Linked DNA regions of Homo sapiens: regions 1, 2, 3, 5, 6 and 7 are each linked to region 4. Evidence: promoter capture Hi-C in 16 types of primary human blood cells and fetal thymus (Javierre and others, 2016). All regions are on one chromosome and are shown on one strand. The core of a region is centred on a gene start or on the middle of the fragment in contact, and the rest is flanking DNA. Distances in the headings are between cores, read along the strand shown. Region 1 overlaps CWF19L2 (CWF19 like cell cycle control factor 2). Region 2 has its middle 7.5 kb from the start of ALKBH8. Region 3 has its middle 56 kb from the start of LINC02552. Region 4 holds the start of MSANTD4 (Myb/SANT DNA binding domain containing 4 with coiled-coils). Region 5 has its middle 170 kb from the start of CASP4. Region 6 overlaps LOC105369466 (a long non-coding RNA gene). Region 7 has its middle 2.8 kb from the start of LINC02552.

The links. The method cuts DNA at HindIII sites, captures the fragments that hold promoters and counts their contacts. A CHiCAGO score of 5 or more calls a contact.
Region 1: a fragment that was not itself captured here is called in contact with the fragment with the promoter of MSANTD4 in region 4 in 1 of 17 cell types (naive B cells); the score reaches 6.6 in naive B cells.
Region 2: a contact is called between a fragment that was not itself captured here and the fragment with the promoter of MSANTD4 in region 4, in 1 of 17 cell types (naive CD8 T cells). The highest score is 6.9, in naive CD8 T cells.
Region 3: a fragment that was not itself captured here is called in contact with the fragment with the promoter of MSANTD4 in region 4 in 6 of 17 cell types (activated CD4 T cells, M1 macrophages, M0 macrophages and 3 more); the score reaches 8.8 in activated CD4 T cells.
Region 5: a contact is called between a fragment that was not itself captured here and the fragment with the promoter of MSANTD4 in region 4, in 2 of 17 cell types (monocytes and total B cells). The highest score is 7.5, in monocytes.
Region 6: a fragment that was not itself captured here is called in contact with the fragment with the promoter of MSANTD4 in region 4 in 1 of 17 cell types (neutrophils); the score reaches 5.9 in neutrophils.
Region 7: a fragment that was not itself captured here is called in contact with the fragment with the promoter of MSANTD4 in region 4 in 3 of 17 cell types (M2 macrophages, activated CD4 T cells and naive CD8 T cells); the score reaches 8.4 in M2 macrophages.

Annotation. Positions count from the first base shown.
Region 1 is chr11:107,451,653-107,454,546 of GRCh38, forward strand. It overlaps CWF19L2 (CWF19 like cell cycle control factor 2), which reads right to left. Exons shown (of 18, transcript NM_152434.3): 3 at 2,798-2,894. Among named protein-coding and RNA genes, the nearest start is that of CWF19L2, 4.7 kb to the right of the region's middle. The HindIII fragment of the contact is 4,540 bases long and covers 1-2,894 here.
Region 2 is chr11:107,571,777-107,574,657 of GRCh38, forward strand. No RefSeq gene overlaps it. Among named protein-coding and RNA genes, the nearest start is that of ALKBH8, 7.5 kb to the left of the region's middle. The HindIII fragment of the contact is 413 bases long and covers 1,274-1,686 here.
Region 3 is chr11:104,663,433-104,666,584 of GRCh38, forward strand. No RefSeq gene overlaps it. Among named protein-coding and RNA genes, the nearest start is that of LINC02552, 56 kb to the left of the region's middle. The HindIII fragment of the contact is 942 bases long and covers 952-1,893 here.
Region 4 is chr11:106,020,933-106,023,785 of GRCh38, forward strand. It overlaps MSANTD4 (Myb/SANT DNA binding domain containing 4 with coiled-coils), which reads right to left and starts at 1,308. Exons shown (of 3, transcript NM_032424.3): 1 at 30-1,308. RefSeq lists enhancers at 830-949, 1,780-1,849 and a silencer at 1,280-1,389. The HindIII fragment of the contact is 3,155 bases long and covers 103-2,853 here.
Region 5 is chr11:104,792,888-104,795,888 of GRCh38, forward strand. No RefSeq gene overlaps it. Among named protein-coding and RNA genes, the nearest start is that of CASP4, 170 kb to the right of the region's middle. The HindIII fragment of the contact is 2,886 bases long and covers 1-2,737 here.
Region 6 is chr11:104,680,711-104,683,569 of GRCh38, forward strand. All of the region lies in intron 1 of LOC105369466 (a long non-coding RNA gene), which reads left to right. Among named protein-coding and RNA genes, the nearest start is that of LINC02552, 73 kb to the left of the region's middle. The HindIII fragment of the contact is 4,581 bases long and covers 1-2,859 here.
Region 7 is chr11:104,610,707-104,613,454 of GRCh38, forward strand. No RefSeq gene overlaps it. Among named protein-coding and RNA genes, the nearest start is that of LINC02552, 2.8 kb to the left of the region's middle. The HindIII fragment of the contact is 3,436 bases long and covers 1-2,748 here.

The DNA of each region.
Region 1 (2,894 bases), core at 205-2,704, 1.4 Mb after region 4:
CAAATAACTTTATGACAATAAATTTGACAATTTCTATGGAATAAATTCCCAGAAAAACCGAAATTACTAAAACTAACTCAAGAATAAACAGAAAGTATTTAACACAACTATTAAAGGAATTAACTCTGTCGTTAAACCCATTCCACAAAGAAACTCCAGGACCAAACCGTTTCACTGGCAAATTTTAACACTTATAGATGCAAAAAAAGCACTTACCAAATTCAATACTCATTCAAGATACAAACTCTCAGAAAACTAGAAATAAAATGTCATTTCCTTAATCTGAAAAGGCATACATGAAAGTCCCACAGCAGACATCATGCTTAAATGTAAAAACCTGAATGCTTTGCACCTAAGATAAGGAAAAAGGCAATCATGTCCACTCTCACCACTTCCATTCAACACTATTTTTAAGTCCTAGCTACTGAAATAAGGCAACAACAATTAACAAATAAAACAGGCACAGAGACTGAAAAGAAAAAAGTAAAAGTCTTTTTCACACATGACATACCATTTACCTAGAAATCCTAAGAAATCTACTAAAAAAGCTACTAACACTAGTATTAGTAATTTTAACATGGTGATAAGAGGCAAGGTGAATATATCAAAAGCAGGTTTTTTTTCACTTTTTTCTTTTTTTTCTGATCCTAATGTTTCAAGTCACTTCTATAATTACATACTAGCTGTAAACACATTTAATTTAAAATTCCACTCACGATAGCACTTCCAGAAAACAAAATGGAAAAAAAATAACAAACGACATGTAAGATCTCTACACTAAAAATTTCAGAACATTGTGAGAAAAATCAAAGACATAAATGGATAGAGAGATGTACCAAGTGCATAATGGATTGAAAGAATATTTTAACATATCTATCTCCCTAAATTCCTTCCAATAGGGAAAATTCAGCCTTTTCAACAAATGATGCTAGAAAAACTGGAAATCCACGTGGGAAAAAAATAAACTGACACTACACAACATAAATAAAAATTATTAATGGATTATAAATAAGCAAAAAAGCCAAAGCTATAAAACTTCTAGGGAAAAAAAATAGGAGGCCAAGCATGGTGGCTCACACCCGTAATCCCAGCACTTTGGAAGGCTGAGGCAGGAGATCACTAGAGCCCAGGAGTTCGAGACCAGCCTCGACAATATAGTAAGACTCCATGTCTACAAAAACAACTTTTCTGTACTACATCTGTAGTCATAGCTAATTGGGCTGCTAAGGCAGCAGGATTGCTTGAGCCCAGGAGTTTGAGGCTGCAATGAGCCATGATGGTGCCACTGCACTCCAGTCTGTGCAACATAGTGAGGCTCCATCTCTAAAAACAAACAAAAAACAAAAAAATTTAATAATAACATAAACATAGGAGAAATCACAATCTTGAGGTGCGCAAAAATTAGGATACCAGAAGCACTAAGAAAAAATGATGAAAAACAAAAAAGAAAATATTTAATAAATCAGATTTCACAAAGACATGGAATGCCCTATGGGGACTTAAAATGATGCTCTACATCCTTGTTCTTCAGAGAAATATCACACGAGACATTACACAGTAGAATAGCTAAAAATTACTAAGACTGACAATACCAAGTACTAGCAAGGATGTGGAATTCCTTGGTGACTCCTAGTGCTAAACTTGCCTCAGAGCCAATGGACAGGTGGTTGGGGGGCAACTGGTGCAGCTAAGGGAGTGCTTACACCACCTCTCCCCCAACCCAAGGCTGCACAATGTGCAGCTCCAAAAGAGACCCTGTCCTTCTGCTTGAGGAGAGGAGAGAGAAGAGTAAATACAGGACTCCATCTTGCATCTTGAATACCAGCTCAGCCATAGCTGGTAACCACTAAAGAGCCCTTAGGCCCTGAATAACCAGCACCAATAATCGGGTACTACACTGTGGCCTTCACTGTGTATCTGAGACTTGCTGGATTCAGGTGAGACTCAGCACATTCCCAGCTGTGGTGGCTATGGGGAGAGCCTCCTTCTGCTTGAGAAAAGTAAAGGGGGCTCTGTCTTGCGCCTTAGGTACCAGCTCAGCCACAGGGTGGTAGAACACCAAGAGGGATCTTGGGGTCTCCAGCCCCACGCCTTGGCTCTTGGATAGCATTTCTGGATCTGCCCTGGCCCAGGGGGTGCCCACTGCCCTGAAGGGTGAGTCCCAGGCCGGGCAGCTGACTGAAGAGTTCTTGGGCCTTAAGGGAACATCAGTGGTAGCCTGCCAGTACTACCTGTGGGTCTATGGTGGTGGCTACAGGGTGAGGCCCCTCTGCCTGTGAAAAGGGAAGAGTGGGAAGGACTGCCATTCATAGGTTGAATGCCAGCTCAGCCACAGTTCAATAGAACACCAGGTACAAGTCTAAGGTTTTTGACGCCAGTACCTGGGTCCCTGATGGCACCTCTGGACCCACCCTCAGGCCTGGGGGAACTTGCCACCCTGAAGGGAAAGACGCAGGCCTGGCTGGCTTCATCACCTGCTGATTGCAGAGCCCCAGGGCCTTGAGTGAACACCAGCTGTAGCCAGGTAATTGTTACAGCAGGCCTTGGGCAAGATCCAGTGCTGTGCTTAGCAATAATTCCCAAATCATATCCCTATCCTCTTAGCCTTTCTCTGAAATTCAAGATCAACATTTCCAATATTTTCTGGACATCTCTAAGTAGATGTATCCCAGATATTTTCATATCATAACTAGTAATATATTTTTTACGTTTTCTTGTATTTTAACTTCCCATAAGTTACACATTCAAATAAAATGTTCTCAAATAGCTGCTTTGATTAATTTTAGTACATACTTACTGATGAGCTATCAGATGACTCATTGTTTTTTTCATATTTCTGTTTCTTGCTCTTTTTTTTCTTTTCTTTCTTTGCTTTTTTTGAATGCTTGTCTTTT
Region 2 (2,881 bases), core at 230-2,729, 1.6 Mb after region 4:
AATTAGCCAGACATGGTGGCATGCACCTATAGTCCTAGCTACTCAAGAGGCTAACATGGGAGGATCACTTGAGCCCAAGAATTCAAGGTGACAGTGAGCTATGATTGCACCACTGAACTCCAGCCTGGACGACAGAGTAATGAGCACTCTCATCAGCTAATAAAGCATCCAAAACTAGAATTCTTACAGCTATTGTATTCTAGTTCAAGAGTCTTCAATCAGAAAAAAATTGAAAATGGCCCCAATAGTCCTTGAAAATTGTTACATTTTTACTGTAGTTCCAAACTATGAAACTGTTTGACTGCAGTTTCAAACTCAATTCCTATGGTTATGAGGTTTCTAACCTCGCCCTTCTCCCTACAGCCCCTTTCCCCACCATCTGTTTCTGGCTACTTTCTAGTTTTTCTTCCAGTTGTCCCCTGTGGCAACTGTACTAGTTTTGCTTGTTTTTCTATTTATGGTTTAAAAAAAAAAAGTTTTATTTCTCAGTCTTTCCTCTCATTTACTCTTCTGCTACTTATTTTATTCCTCCTGGAAAAATGACAAATTTGTATCAAGTTTTCTTTCCAAAGTTGTGTCTTCTCTGCTGCTTCCCTGGTTGCTGGCTTCTTGAAACTTCAGCAAGAATGCATTATGTAAAACCATTTGATGTTCACTGTGACATTTCAGGACTGAATACATTATTCACGCTATGGTGATAAAAATTCAATGAAAAGTTTGCAGTTTTATAAGTCATATGGTGAAAGTATTCCCTGTACAGTAATTAGAGGCAAAAGGTAACCAAGAAAAAAAACAGAGGAGAAGGAAAAGGGTCAGCCTTTAATTTATAATACAAAACATAAAACTCAGCTTGGAGAATTCATTTATTATTATTATTTTTTTTTTTTGGTCATTTGCAAAGCATACAATTTTAGCTACGAAGCATTAACCTCCCCCAAATGGTCTATTTATTCTTGAGGCTAAAGGCCTGCTTACTTTGCAGAATAATTTTCTTTTCTACACAGATTTTTTAAATAGATGAGAATAAAGAACTAGCAGGCAACTCAGGGTGCAGGAAAATCTTTGGGGTGGCTAGAGGTGTGGGATTTGTGGATTTTAAAAGGTTATGATAAAATAAAACAAAATCTTTTAAAAATGTTTCCCTTAAATGTAGAAGAAAAAAGTATATTTTAAAAATGTATAAACATTTCATTTAAAAATGTCTTGCCACATTGATGGCTTCATTCTATCATTAATTTCTCAAAGACACAAAGATATTTGCCCAGAGAGGGCAAGCTTCATTATTAACTATATTTGTGATCGCTTCTAGTTTGGGGAGTAGACTTCTTGTCAGATCTGATTAGATAGTCTCAGCTGTTAGGTTGGGACTGAGAGCTCATACTAGGAGCATTAATTTTGCTATTTTCTGTTGGTTATTTGTGCTTGAATTATTGTCTATATTCATCTTCACTGTAGGGAATTCAGAGTTTTCTAACCCACTTGTCCATTTTGCAAAAAATAGTTTTTGGATTACATAATCCAAAAATCCATTTATCAGGCACCACAAAAAAATAATGTCTCGCTTAAATCAAAAGAGGGAGGATGCCAGAGGCAGCTGTCCTGCCTGTGAGCTCTCACTCCTCTCCTCTTCTAGAGCACCTCTCATAAAGTCTGTGACATGTAACATCAGACATTCACACCTAATGAAGCTTCCAGGATATTAAATGTGAATAGAGATTAATTTGTTTTAGATAAACATATAAATGGAATTTCTAGAATATTCTTCTAAATCCCACAAGCCATACACACTTCACTTTAGAGGCCACTGCACTAGGGCATGTTCCTCAAAGGCTGGTTCTTAGACTACTTGCATCAGAATCACTGAAGTGCTTGGTTAAGTGGTCTCCAACCCCACTAGACATAACGAGTCAACTTAAAGCACATATAAATTTTAATTCTCTGAACACCAGTTGGTTACAGTGTGTGCTCCAAAATCTCTGGGGCCAGGGCCCAGTAACCTGCATGTTTAACAAGCAATTTTGCTACTTTTGCAAGTGTTCAACCACTGAGGAAAAAGATTGTATGTTATTTGTCAACATAGACCTCTTTAAAAATCATCCCCAGAGTGAGAAGCTGCCAGATTTCTAGTATATTTGGAATTCTCATTTCAAGGGAAGTATTTTAATTTTATAAGGTGCAAGGACCAAGAAGCAGATGATTCAAATTTCAGATTATTAAATTATTAAAGAATAATAGATTATGTTTTATAATTTGACAAAAGTTTTTAAAAAATTTTTAATAAAAAATAAAAACAACTCTTTTTGGCATCTCTTATATCCCATTTTACAAATGTAACAACTGAGACTTAAAGACAAAATGTATGAGCTGTTTAAATATAAATTTTTTTATTTTTATTTTTGTATTTTTTTGAGATGGAGTCTTGCTTTGTTGCCAGGCTGGAGTGCAGTGATGCAGTCTCGGCTCACTGCAACCTCTGCCTCCTGGGTTCAAGTGATTCTCCTGCCTCAGCCTCCCAAGTAGCTGGGACTACAGGCATGCGCCACCATGCCCAACTAATTTTTTTGTAATTTTTAGTAGAGATGGGTTTCACCATATTGGCCAGGATGGTCTTGATCTTCTGACTTCATGATCCGCCTGCTTTGGCCCCCCAAAGTGCTGGGATTTAAATATAAAATATTTTAAAGAGTGATTTACATCCATGTCTGTTATCGCATGAGTAAAAGAGCTAGCTTTTATTTTATTTTATTTTTTATTTTATTTTTTGAGACAAGAGTCTTGCTCTGTCACCCAGGCTGGAGTGCAGTGGCGCAATCTTGGTTCACTGCAACCTCAGCTTCCCAGGTTCAAGCAATTCTCCTGCCTCGGCCTCCTGAGTAGTTGT
Region 3 (3,152 bases), core at 173-2,672, 1.4 Mb before region 4:
GAATAAAAGTGTTTCTTTCTCTTGGGTAAATACTTAGAGAAGTTGGATTGCTCAATTGTAGTTCAGGTATATGTTTAACTTTGTAAGAAACTGCCTTACTAGGCATGTACCACCAGAGCCTTTTTGCCTGGTCCCAGTCGTTTTGGCGAGCACCCAGTGGAGGTTCATGAAGAAGAGCTTGTGAATGTGAGTAAAGTACCCCTGTGTCTGTGGCTCCCAGAGAGCCACATGATGATGTGACATCATGCTCTTAATGAGCCTCTTCCTGCCCTTTAGGAATCTGGGGAACATGGAGCTGAATCCTTACTGGTTTGTTGCCCAACTGGCATGTCTTTCTCTAGTGTTCTGCCAAGTAATCCTGGGTTCATGTCCTGTCTCATCCAGGGAACTCCTATCTCATCAGATTTTAGTCTATTTGATTGTCATGTAACATCAGTTTTCTGATGGGTTCATGAAAACTTGTGAAATTTTTTGTTTACCTGTGGTCAGAATAAAAGGAATGCCTCTTCCAGTTTCCTCCATCCTCCATGGGAGTTTAGCTGTGCTGAGGTTTTTAATGAGACCACATTACAATTTCTGATGCTCTCAGGCACAATTGCCTTTAAATAAAGTCTTGAGGTAAATGAGCTACTCAGTGAAGGTGAACTTTGGCAGAAACGTCTGAAATTTTTAAATGCAAATTTATCTCTTCCATTTTAACTATTGTGGAGTCCTGAAGAAATATCCTCTGACGTTAACTTTGAGCTTTGTAAAATAATATAAAATGATAAGGAAAGAAGAATTGCTACTATGATCATTGTATATTCAAATCATGGACAGAGCTGGATATTAAAATGAATACGTTTGTACTAATTAACCAGTAGGCTTTTTTCACAAAGCTAGAGAGGAAAACCCATCCTTTTACTGAACTAAATTTGTTGCCTTTTCCTCAAGTTTTCAGTTGCATATGAAAGCTTACTTTTCGTTTCCTTCTATTATTGTTTACCAGATTAGGCATCCATGCTTTGCTGGTGAACTTACACATATTCCTTAAGACACAAACTATTTTTTTTAATCTTACCTTTTTCCTTAACAGAAGCATAGTGGCAGATGTTGTGAGTTATCTGGTATGGTTTGAACATTTGTCTCCACCAAATCTCACATTAAAATTTGTTCCCCAAAGTTGGAGATGGGTCCTGGTGAAAGGTGTTTGGGTCGTGGGGGTGGATCCCCACTTTTCCTCTCTCTTGCCATGTGCTCTTTACACACTGGCTGTCCTTCACCTTGTGCCATGAACAGAAGCAGTCGGAGACCCTCATCAGAAGCAGGTGCTGGTGCCGTGGTTCCTGTATAGTCAGCAGAATCATGAGCCAAATAAACCTCTTTTCGTTATAAATTACCCAGATTTAGGCTTTCTTGCATAGCAACATAAACAGAGGAAGGGATGATCTATGCTTTATTCTCTCTGCCTTTCTTTCTTGATAGGAGAATTCACAATTTTACTTAGTGTTTAATTTTCTCTAAATACTCCAAGACACCTCTTGGATGCAGATCAATCTCTCTAATTGGGAATATGAGGGTCCCCACTATCTATTTCCATCTCAGCCCTCCAATCTCGTTGCTCATCATTCCCTGACTCAAATACCAAAAGGCTAGTGGTACCCTTTCCAAACCATGCTGTTTCTCTTTTTAATGTCTTGCCTCATAACACATGCATTTTCTGCAAAGTCTACTCCTTACCCATTATTAAACATATTTTAAATTTCAGATCTGAAGGCACCTCCTCCAGGAAGACTTGCCTGATTCTCCATGGGCTGTTATGTGCACCTTGAATATACCCTCTTTATCATCCTTGTTGTAACACACATTATGGATTAATCATCTTTTTTTTTCTATCTCTTTCTTTGTTTACTAAGCTTCTTGAATAAAAGGATTGTCTCATTCACCATTATGTTTTTTGCACAGTGCCTGACACGTTCAATATATTTTTCACTTTTGATGTTTCACTTAAAGGCTAGTGCTTTTCCTGAGTGACAAGTCAATGAATTGAGAGATTTAAAAAAAGAAGCCACAGGATGAGAGAAAATATTTGCAAAACACATACCTGAAAAAGGACTATTATCCAAAATGTACAAAGAAGTCTTAAAATTCAACAATAGTAAGCAAACAACCCAATAAATAAATGGGCAAAAGATCTGAAGAGACATCTCATCAAAGAAGATAAGCAGATGGCAAGCAAAACAAAGATAAATAGATGTTCCACATTATATGCCATTAGGAAACTGAAAATTCAAACAACGAGACACCTCTACACACCTATTAAAATGACTTAAATTCAGAACACTGACAACACCAAATACTGACAAGAAGGAAGCGCGAAAGGAAATTCTACTCATTGCTGGTGATTGCAAAATAGTACAGCTGCTTTGGAAGACAGTTTGGCAGTTTCTTACAAAGCTAAACAGAGTTTTACCACATGATCCAGCAATTCACTCTGTGATATTTACCCAAATGACTTAAAATTTATGCCCACACAGTGACCTGCATATGAACATTTATAGCAGCTGTATTTATAATTGCCAAAAAAATGGAAGCAACCAAGCTGTCTTTCAATAAGTGAATGAATAAATAGCCTGTTATATATACAGGCAATGGACTATTATTTAGCACTAAAGAGAAAGGAGTTATCAAGCCATAGAAGGACATAGATAAAACGTAAGTGTCTATTACCAAGTGAAAGAAGGCAATGTGAAAGCTCTACATACTATATGATTGTAACTATGTGATATTCTGGGAAAGAGAAAACTGTATAGAGACAGTAAAAAAATAAAATAAAAAAGTGATTGCCTGGTGTGTGGGGGTACAGGGAGAGAAGGAGGCAGAAATAAATAGGTGGAACACAGAGCATTAGAGGGAGAGTGAAATTATTCTCTGTGGTATTATAAGGGTGGATACATGTCATTATACATTTGTCAAAACCCATAGAATGTACATCACTAGTGACTTCTAATGAAAACTATAGAACTTATTTAATAAAATGTATCAATATTGCTTAATCACTTATAACAAATGCACCACAGTAATGCAATATATCAATAGTAGGGGAAACTGTGTGTATGTCGTGGGGTGGGAGGTTATAAAAATTTTGTGCTTTCTGCTCCATTTTTCTGTAG
Region 4 (2,853 bases), core at 58-2,557:
AGTTGTTGAAGTTCTGTAGATATGCTTACCTGGATAAAAGCCATTTCCAGAAATGTTTGTCTTCCTGTCCTCTCCTTTATATGCCGGTATCCAAGTAACAGAAGCTTGGGTTTTCTACCATCCATTCATTCCCCAATAATTTCCTCAAAAAATACTTACTGAGCTCCTACTGTGTGAAAGGCACTATTTTTGGTGCTGGGGATATAACACCTCATAAAATGTGAAAATATGTCATTTTAGATGTCAAACACTATCCCTTTTCTATTGCCTGTCATCGCTCTCTTAGCAGAAAGGATTCAACAGCTGCAGTCTCTAAAACTTACAAACCTTCTATGCCCAATCACAGAGAACAGCCATTTTCTAAAATCCCATTTCACAATCGTTCTTCACTAGTTGGAAACAGGAATGAGATGTAGTTCACTTACGTAATCCTTGTGAAGATGATGTACTGCCAATGGCATAATATAACCAGGCAACTTTTTACAAGCACTAAAACTTGAGAATGAAGTTCCTAGATACTTCATGATAAGTCAGAATTAAGAAGTCTGAGAAAAACCAGACGGCAAGTTCCGGATCAAAAAAATTTGAGGGTAAATTAGTTAAGCAGTTCAAGAAGAAAAGCATCACAAATCTACAATATCAAACCCTACCCAAATTCTCTTTAAAGTGTGGCTTTCCCCTCCCCTATATTCTTATAGGGGATTCACTTCCCTGCCAAAAAGTATGTTCTTCTCTAAAACTCGTGGTAGGTGCATAACAAGTATACTTATGGGTCGACGGTTATCAAAGTATCTTTCACCTCCCTCCCGCTGCCTCCTTTGGGACCGTCCAAAAAGAGCCCCTGGGAAGAATCGAGTTAGACTGGGCTCCCGGAAGGCCACCCAGGGGAGCAGGGGCGCGCACCTGCCTCGGCCACAATGATGAGGTTGCTGCTGGTAGGAGTCCCGGTGGGAGTCGGGGCAACCTGGAAGATCTCCTCTCTCTGGGTATTAAATGAGAGTCCCGACTGAGTGCCCAGAAACTTCTGCAGTCTTGTTTCCGTGGCCTGGGCCCTCCCCAGCCTCCCCGGTCAGGCGACAGACGCGCGTGGCACTTCTCCCGAGCGTGCAGTCCCGCTACGTCGCAGCCCTTGGACCAAACCCGGCAGCAAGCGTTGCGCCAATTGCCGCTGACCCCTCCGGGACCCTACCCACTGCGAGGGCACCCACTGGTCACGGAGCCGCCGCTTCCCTGGCCGCCTCCTCCAGCATAGAACCGCTCACCTGCGACCCCGGCGGCACCTCCCCACGGTCGCCCCAAGGGGGGTAGGAAAAAAGATGCTTCATTGATCCCCCGCCCACTAACTGGGCCCGCCCATCTCCCGCCACCCCAATGGCTCATATGGCTGCCGCTCATTTGATGAGTCTCATCCATTGGTTAGAATGGTGTAGCCATTCTGGCTGAGAGCCCGCCCTAGGCCTGGCCTCACAATGGGAATCAAGTCCCAAACCGGTTCCGGGTTAGTGCCCTGGAATTCCGCCCCCTCGTGATTCACCTCCCTGTCTGTGCCCCGTCTGTGGCGCGCAGCTCTGTCAGTCAAGTGGACTCTAGGAAGGGATTGGCCCCTAGAGATCCGCTTGCTGCGCTGTTCCAACTGATTGGGGCACTGGCCGCTGCATCTCCAAACTCGTCTCTTGTCCTTGACCCTCACCTGTTAAAAGGGCAAAGAAGAAGTAGGAAACTTGTGCTGCTCCAGTCGGGTTCTTAGGCCAGCATCACCTTCTCCTCGACCAGCTGCGACCTAATTGGCCTCAGCCATTCCTCTAAGGCTGCCCGTGCCAAAGGTCGCTGGTGACTTCCTTATGGCTAAATCTAGGAGTCACTTCTTAGTCCTTATCATACTATATACTTCCCAGAAGACATTTGAATTTTTTTTTTTTTTTTTTTTTTTTTTTACCATTCTTCACTGTTTCCCCAAATATGTGCTTCTGCTTTCTTCTCTCCCAGTCCTCCTCTATATTCAAGTTTGCAGTTGCTTATTTTCTGCCGTCTCACGTTCAGGTGTTTGTGATTAGTGCACCTTTCTTCCCGCTGCCTCTGTCCAGGCCTCTGTGGACTCACCTGAATTCCATCAGTAGCCTCCTAGCTGGTCTCCCAACATCCTGTCTGCCGGACTGTAGTTCATTCTTCACGTTGTAGCCAAAATGAGCTGCTTAAAGTTTTTTAGTGGAATCTCACCACTGGTGATACAGTACAAACTCCTTATCGAACCTGAAAAATAAGGCACCTACTTTTCCCTCAACCTTCATCTCTCGACATTATACCCACATTTCTTCTTCCTTACCCCATTCCCTTTGCTTCTTTCAGTTCCTGAACTCTACAGTGGCTACTGGGAAGTCAGTTTGCATTGCTGTGTTTCCTCCCTGCTTCTCCGCTATGCCTAGCATTCATTTTTAGAAATTCCTTTCTAAAGGAAGGCTTCCAAAATTATCTCCATTCACCCTCCCTCCACTTCCAAGTATTCCCTTCCCTGTAGGTTTGCCAGATAAAAACAGGACGCTCAGTTAAATTTGAAGTTCAGATAAAAAGCAAATAATTTTTAATCTGTCCAATGGAATATTTGGTATCCATATGTTTATTTGCTAAATTTAAAAAAATAAAAATTTTTGTTTACTAAATCTGCAAGCCTACTTCAGCGAGCTCTCATCACGGCCTTTCCTCTGACAGCACTTCCCACATATTTTATGTGGGTGGGGCTTTTCTTGTTTACTGTTGTGAATAACACAGTGCCTAGAATGTAACAGACAAAAAAGATTTGGTAAATAAATGGTGGAATATTCTGGAGGAATGGTGCATCCTTGCTGGATATTCTTG
Region 5 (3,001 bases), core at 45-2,544, 1.2 Mb before region 4:
TATATTTGGTCTCTACACCTGTCTCTTGACATAGAGCTCCTAAAACCCCTGTAGTTCCCTGAGTGATAGGGTGCTAAGAGCATCCTTTGTTCAATTTGACCTTTGACCCTGGTTTGTGACATAGAGCTCCTTAACTTCTTGGAATTTCCCGGGTGATAAAAATATCTTTTGTTCTAATGAGGCAACACTTGGTAGGGTCCTGGACAGCTTCAAGTTGGGGGCTGGTTGCCAGGAAGACCAAGCCATGATTAGAAACTTGAAACTTTCAGCCTCAGAGACGCTGGGAATTGAGTTAGTAATCAATCATGCCTATGTGATGAAGCCTCCATAACAATCCCTCAACTACAGGTTCAGAGAACTTCTGGGCATTGAATATATTGATGTGCTTGGAGAGTGTCACATCACAACTCCTTGGGCACAGAAGCTCCTGTGCTCAGGAACCCTCAGTCCCCATTCTATGTACATACCTCTTCATCTGGCTGTTCATCTGTATTCTTTCTAATATCCTTTACAATACAGTGGTAAATTTAAGTAAATATTTGCTTGAGTTTTGTGAGCTGTTTTAGCAAATTATTTGACATGAGGAGGGTGAGAAGTTCTGATTTATAACTGGTTGGTCAGAAGTATAGGTGACAACCTGGATCTTGTGATTGGCATTTGAAGAGGTAAACAGACTTGTGGGACTGAGCCCTTAATCTCTTGGATCTGCACTAACTCCAAGTAGTTGCAGAATTAAACTGTAGGACATCAAGTTGGTATCTGTACAGTTGGTGAGTCAGTTGGTGCGGGAAAACTTGATAAACATTTGGTGTCAGAAATGTTCTGTGGGTAAAAATAGGTTTCCTTTAAATGGCTTCTCCTTCTCCCCAGTCTATCCAATTTTACCTGAGTGCCTTCCACTGAAGAATTAAAATAGAAAGCTATTAGAAAGGGTATATGGTAAATAATATTTTAAGGCTTTATACTACCACAATCAAACAACAGGTCTAGAAGAGTAGGCAAGATACTGATTATCAACAAACACAACTGGCACACTTTCTGAGTCTTCTGAAACCTAGAGAAATCATCTTTCATGGTGCGAACATGATTTACTGTTGATATGTCACTAATAGGGAGTAAAAAATTTGAAAAAAAATTAATATGTTGGGGTGTTTGATATTAACTATAGGAAGTCAAAAAGACTCACAATTTCCCCTTTGCATTTTAAATTTTTTAAAAAATTATACTTATTTTTAAAATTATGGATCAATATTTACAAATGTGGAAAGACTGATAAGAGAAAATTCCAATGTCGCATCTTCCAATTTCAGTCTTACATCTGTACACCCCACCTTCTTCCACCTCTTCCTTAAGGATAATCGATACAAATGTAAAATATATGTACTTTAATCAATAGATATTTATTAGGGATATCTAAAATGTAAGACTTTTTAAACATAACCACAATATTGCTGTTTATTATGCCTAAAACATGTGTAAAGTTAATTGTTTAATAACACCAAATATTTTGGCAGTGTTTAAGTATCTCTATTTGATAATTTTTAAAAGAATCAAGATCTTGATAAAATCTATACATTGCATTTGGATGATAAATTGCAAGAGTCTCCTTTACATAGTCTCTCTCTCTCTCTCTCTCTCCCTCCCCCACACACACACCCCTCTCTCTCTCTCTCTCTAGAAGTTTATTTATTGACTATTCAGGTGGTTATGCACAGTATGGATTTGGTTGATTTCATCCCTGTGGTATTATTTAACATGTTTCTCTGTGCCATGTTACTGTTAAGAGCCTTGTCCAGATTCTGAAATGTGGTGCTGTGTACTAACACCAGGAGGCACATAATGTCTAGCTTTTTCTCCTTTGTGTTTTTAGCTGTTATTAGGTCATTATTTTTCTTGAAGTTGCAAAATGCTGACATTCTGACTCTACTATTCTTCGTTTAGAATCTGGAGGAGAATTTTCACAACTTAATTAATTGGTTATCCTTAAGTACAGTTCACAATGGAAAAGGTGGATAGACTCTTGATTTTTTTTCTTTATGTATCAGTCCTCAAATAGTTTTCTGGGACCTCAGATGTGGGCAATGTGTACTCAGTTCTAACACAATATTTAAGAGTTCTGTAACACTGAAAAAATTATGTTTCCTCTCTGTTGATATATAAATCTGGTGGAGATGTTTGAATAATTAGAAATAATTCACACAAGAAAATGCCTAGCTGACACTTTTGCATACAGTAAAAACTCAATCCATTATTATAATCATTACTGTTTGTTTAAATACTCTATATGCAATGTTTACACATATGGCTTGAGGAAATAGGAGAAATATTGAACTATGTATTATATAAATATATATAACATTATATATAACATATATGATATATAATACATATATATTATCTTATGTATGTTATATATAATATATATGCACAGAGAAAAAGAGCACAGTAGAGTTACCAAAAGAAAAAATGTTTATTTGGGGAATGTGCTCTAAAACACTGGATTATTTTTATATTACATGTAAACAATAGCCATACTTCAAGCCCCTCTGCCATTTTTACTTGCCGTCTTCTCAGTGAAGAGATTTCAAAAATGCCAGTTTTTCAGACAGGAGAGGAGATAAAGGGTTTGAGATAGCAGAACAATAGAGCTAAGAAATATAAACTTGGTCTAAGTCTTTTGACAAAATCTAGCATCAGCCTGAAAATTTATCATTCTTTTCAGTATATGTTTCATGTAAGCTTGTTAGAAAAGAAGAATAAGATTACGTATACAGATGGCTAACTCAGCAGGTGAGAGCTTGATTAATCTCAGGTCAAGACCTCATGTCTCCTACGGGCTCATTATTTTCACACGTTTTCATGTCCACAGTGTACATATTTAACCCAGGTCAGTCATTTCATAAATGCTTATTCAGATTCATTCATAACGGGTAAATTCTTGAAGTTCTAACTCCACAATAAAAGAAAAACTTACAGCACATTCATAATAATATTGGATTTG
Region 6 (2,859 bases), core at 146-2,645, 1.3 Mb before region 4:
TTGAACTTTGTTTTTGTTCCTTGATCTGAACTTTTAGAAGAATGTCTTTTATTTTCTTTTTGGAAGAATATTCCTTAGTTTAGAGTTGCTTATCGTAATTAGATTATGAGGAAAACTCATATCAGGAGCATGGTGTCAGTTCATCCCAATATCGGCCATGCTAGCTTTGGTCATTTTAGTTATAATGATATTACCACACTAACAAAAATGTGGGAAGATGTTTTGATGTAATAGAAATTTCTGATTCTCATCAAATTTCCTGGTACAAGTTTCAGCATCAATTGACATATTTTAAATTCCACTGTTTTTTCTATATTTATTAGTTGACATCCTATTATAAGGAAGAGCTTTCCCTTCCCCTCTATAAATTAATTAATTTTTATATCAGTATGGACTCGATTTTTATTTTACTCAACAGTTTATAATTTATTACCTCATTACTTATTATATTGCCTAAATTATCCCAGATTTGTTCGGTGGCAGTCCTTTCAAGACGGTTTCAGTGTCTTTTTGCCATGACCCTGGATTCTTTGTGCACTATCTTACTACCTTACTTTTTTGCATAAGATGATCCAGGCTCATCTAAAACTTTTCCTTCCCCAGCCCTGGAATCAGGCACTTCTTCAAGGAGCTTTGGTTCTATTTCATGTTGAATGGTGTGTATGAAACAATATCTGATTCCGAAGTGTGCTCATTACTATGGGTGTGCTTCTGAGCCTTCTGATATGAGAGAACTAACATCTAGAGTTATTTTATACCTTCCTATATATCCATAATTTTGTAATGATATATAGTGATAGTTCTAATTTTGATTCAACAGGAGTGTGTACATTGTAGTCATTGCTATTTCAATATTTCTCCCTCCTCAACAGTGAGGAAATTGACTTCCATTATTCTCAATGCATTTGTCCATTTACCCACAGGGTTTAGCTTTTCTAACCCATACCACTGTGAAAAACAAACTTGCTAAAAAAAATCAATATTTATATACAACTAGTTTTATGAGGCAAAATTGACATACAGTGAAATGCACATCTTAAATTTATAATTCAGTAAATTTTTTAGTTAGAATTTTAGAGTTTAGAGGTAAATTGCACCTCTGTAGCCCACATCCCTGCCAAAATACAGAATAATTTTATCACTCAGAAAGATGCCTTATATATTTTGTGACTCATTTCCTCCTAAAAGTAATTAATCTTCTAATTTCCCATCATAGAGTAGTTTTGCCTATATTAGAATATTATATATATGAGATCAAATAACATGTGTTCTTTTATGACTAACTTCTTTCATTCAACATATTGACTGTGAGGTTCACTGATGTAATTGTACATATCAGTACATCATTTTTTACTTCATTAAAATACTGAGTTTTATTTCACATGTATATTTTTGTCTCCCCACCATTTCCATGTCTGACCACTGTTACTACTATATTTTATCATAACATTCCATACAGACATAAAACCAAGCAAAGGGTGGAGTTCCATTTTTAAAAGCTAAACAGGCATTTTGGACAACACATTCTTGGCAATGGAACCTGGACAATATTGATCAAACACTATAGGGAAAGTTCTCACTCCGCATTATAAAAAGGACAGCCAGATATCTACTGTTGTAGAAATGAAATAAGACAGAAAAAAATTAACAAATTGTTTAAACTATTTTCTTAAGGAGACTTCCTCCACTGCCAGAGATCTTGAACAACCTCCTATTCCCAGTCATCTGGAAGCAATTCTTCACATAATTGATGAACTTGCCTTCCACTTTGGGAAGAGAACCACCCTTTTCTATATACTTGCTTGCATTTTTGTTTTAATGTCTTCTACAAAACTAGGACCTTTTGGTGTTTCAGGAGTTTTTTCCTGTTTTATTGTACATTGTTCTTTTTATTCCTGAATAGTATTTCATAGAATGAATATACTAATTTTTTGTTTATTTTATCTATGTTTATAGGCATTTATATTTGCTGGTTAATGTGAATTAAGCTGCCATGAATTGTATATAAGTTTTTTTTTTTCCTTTTTAAGACAGGATTTTACTCTGTAGCCCAGGCTGGAGTGCAGTGGCACAATCATGGCTCACTGCAGCCTTAGCCTCCTAGTCTCAAGCAATCCTCCCACCTCAACTTCCCAAGTAGAGTAACTGGGACCACATGCATGCATTACCATCCCCAGCTAATTTTTTTTTTTTTTTTTTTTTGAGAGACAGAGTCCGTCTATGTTGCCCAAGCTGGTCTTAAATCCTATACTCAAGTGATCCTCCCACCTCAGCCCCAAATTGCTGGAATTACAGGTGTAAGCCCCTACACCTGGTCTTATATAAGTTTTTTGTGAACAATTTTGTATTTCCCTGTGTAAGTATCTATACATGTAATTATTGGGTCATAATCAGATAAATATTTATAAGAAGCTACCATTTCCCATAGTGGTTGTATTATTTTATACTATTACCAGTAATTATGGAAATCCTGATTTTAATTTTTCTAGTGTATGTGCAGTGGCACCATGTACTTTTAATTTAAATTTCCCTGAAAACTAATAATGTTGAGAACTTCTTTATTTATTAGTGACTATTTTTTATATCTTTCTTTGTGCAGTATTTGTTCAAGTCTTTGTCTTTTTCTTATTTCTTTTCCAAATTGTAGGAATAGTTTATATTCTAGATTAAAGTTTTTTTGAGATATGACTGAACAATATTCTCTCCAAGTCTTTGCCTTGTCTGTTATTAATATCTTTAGATGAGAAGTTTTTCATTTTGACAAAGTCAATTTTATCAATTTTTTTCAGTTATTGGCTTCTGTATCTTATCTAATAAACATTTGTTAACCCAAAGTAGCAAAAATATTCTTCTGTGTTT
Region 7 (2,748 bases), core at 106-2,605, 1.4 Mb before region 4:
ATATTAATAAACAACTAGTCTTTTTTCAAATCTCTTGTGCAATAAACATAGATTCAAGACAAGTGATTTTTGTCGTGTCATCTTATTTGTAAGACATGTCTCTCTAGTTGGATAGTGATTGGCTTGTTGGTTTGAACGTCAGGAGGTTAAAATCTTAATTTAAATATGCATTAGTATTAAAATATGTTCAAGAGAATGTCACATCAACCTCAACCTCAAAGTACCAATTATGTTGTTTGGGTTCCACATTTGACACTGTTCTGACTAAACTGATATCCCCCGTTCAGAATTTCTAAAAATGCCTCAGATCTCAGTTTCATAATACATTCTATGTAAAGTAGAAACATTAAGAAAAACTGAATTATAGAAACATAATTTCATAGTTTCAAGGACATAGAAGTCAAAGCATACTGCTTGAAGCTAATGAACAATTATAAAGATGTAGAAGCCAGCACATTATTAGCATTAGGTTAGAAGAAATAGACAATTCTGTAACCACTCAACAGGATGGATTCAAAACAAAGAAATTGTTAAGTTTGGAGTTTAATTATAAACACTAATTTGTAACTTGGATGAGAACAGTAACTGTTTTTAATCCTTAGCCAGTGTTTTATTTTTTTCCCTGAAGCCGCTTATTGAAGAAAATAAATGACGCAGGAAAAGCAAGGGGAATAACTAATAACCAACATTTTATGCATATATATGTGTAGAACTTAAGTGAGAAAAAAACTGATGGCACCATAGTCAATTTAAATAAGATAAAACGTATCAATCAAGCAGTCAACCATAAATCTCTAAGAAACAAGAAGCCCATGTACAAATTCACGGAAACATGGTAATTGATCTTTGTTGATAACGTTGAAGCACTTTGTGATTCAGAAAAAAAAACAAATTTGGAAGTTATCGTATACATAATATGGTTTTACACATAATATTATGTATATTTTATTACATTTTATATTTTTAGATATTATTCATACCCAATTTGTGGCAATCCTGTGAATCCGATCATTGGTAAGTTAGAATAGTTCTTTCCAGGTAATTATTTTTAATTTACTATTTTCAAATAATTTTAAACTTTGGTAAAGTGGTTTGCAGAGATAGTTGCTCTGACAGGCTGTAAATCGGTTTAGTAGCTACCTAACAGCATGGAATATAAGAATGTGCTCGGCGTGTTAACTGTATACATCAATTTCTTAAAAGCTAAAATATCTATATAAAAATAAGGTGCTTTAGGAAAAGAAGGCCATTGGAAGACCCATGAAAATGGTAATTGACTTTCTGAACCAGAAAAGTAAAGCGATAACATAAAGGAAAGAAACAAGATGACAAAAGGTATCATAAAGTATTACACTTGAGTGCTCTCAGTTACATAGATGGCGGTTCCTGAATCATCCTGATTTTGTGAAACAAGTGGAAAATGGATAAAAAAAAGACTGCCTCTCTGTAGACTGATAAGATCCCAACTGTTAAGAAGTGAAAAGTTTCCCAACTTATGCAAATGAAGAATTGCAACAAGTTGGCCAGAAAGGTGATGGTATCTATCAGTCAGGGATCTTTCTGCTCTAAGTGATTGACAATTCAACTTAAATTGGATTAATAAAACTGAGGTATTATTGGCTATAATGTAAACAAGTAGTTCAGTTTAATTAGAAACTAAAATTCTAATGATTAGAATTTCTCTTTACACTGCCCCTTGCCCTCTGGGCTAGCTCAGCCCTTTGAATAGTGCCTCTCAACGGATGTACAAGAGCAGCAGCAAGCAGCAACCTTTACATTCTTCTACCACCCACTTCAGGGAGGCTGTTGTCTCACAGGCCTAACAATTGTTCTAAGGATCACACCTCTGGGGCTGGACTAAATTACTGGTCAATATCTGTAGCAATCCTGATGGCCAGGAAAATATAATGTGCCTATTGGCTGAAGCCTGCATACATCCATTGATTAGTGAACTCATCCAATAAATAATCAACGTGTTAGAACCTTTCTTTGACCCCAATCACTGTGGCCAAGAGTGTGAGCTGTGCGAATAAACCCTAGGCAGTACCATCAAAATTGCATAACCAATAATGCGAAACTAGTAGTTTCCCAAAAGCAGATGGGATATTATTTAAAGGAAGGAAAATAATAAATGCTGAAAAGAAAGCAACTCCAGGGAAAAATTCCCAGCTGTTTTCTTGATTCTATACATATATAGAGTGGATAAGTTCAAGGAGGCTGAACAAAGAGAGAGAATGCATTTCAATATTCCTAATGCAGGTTCAGCAAAAAGGGATATATGTAAGGAGCTATTAAGTTCATCAATAAAGTGATCTAGTCTTATAAACAAGGTCATATCAAGTTTTTTGAGTCTGTTCACTGTTAGAGCACTCGTTTATGTATTCTGTAGTACTTAAGGTTGAGGTAGTTTTATATTTAAGTTATATGTAAAGAACTTCTACTCATTCTTTAAGAGTTGGCCAAGTATTCTTTCTGTGAATACTTAACTGAAACCCCTTATATCAGTCACAAGTATACTTCATGCATATACTAATTTGTACACTTTTCAGAGTCTGTTGTAATTATGTTTGTGTTTCTGTCTTCCCTACTTAGCTTTGAGCTGTTAGATGACATGGTTTATTCATTTTATCTAGGATATGGCACAACTGGGTATAATGCTCAACTAATATTTGGTTAAAAAATAAATATATAATTTAACATTTTTCTTTCTTTACCCATTCATCAAGTAAAATCTCAACAATTTTATGT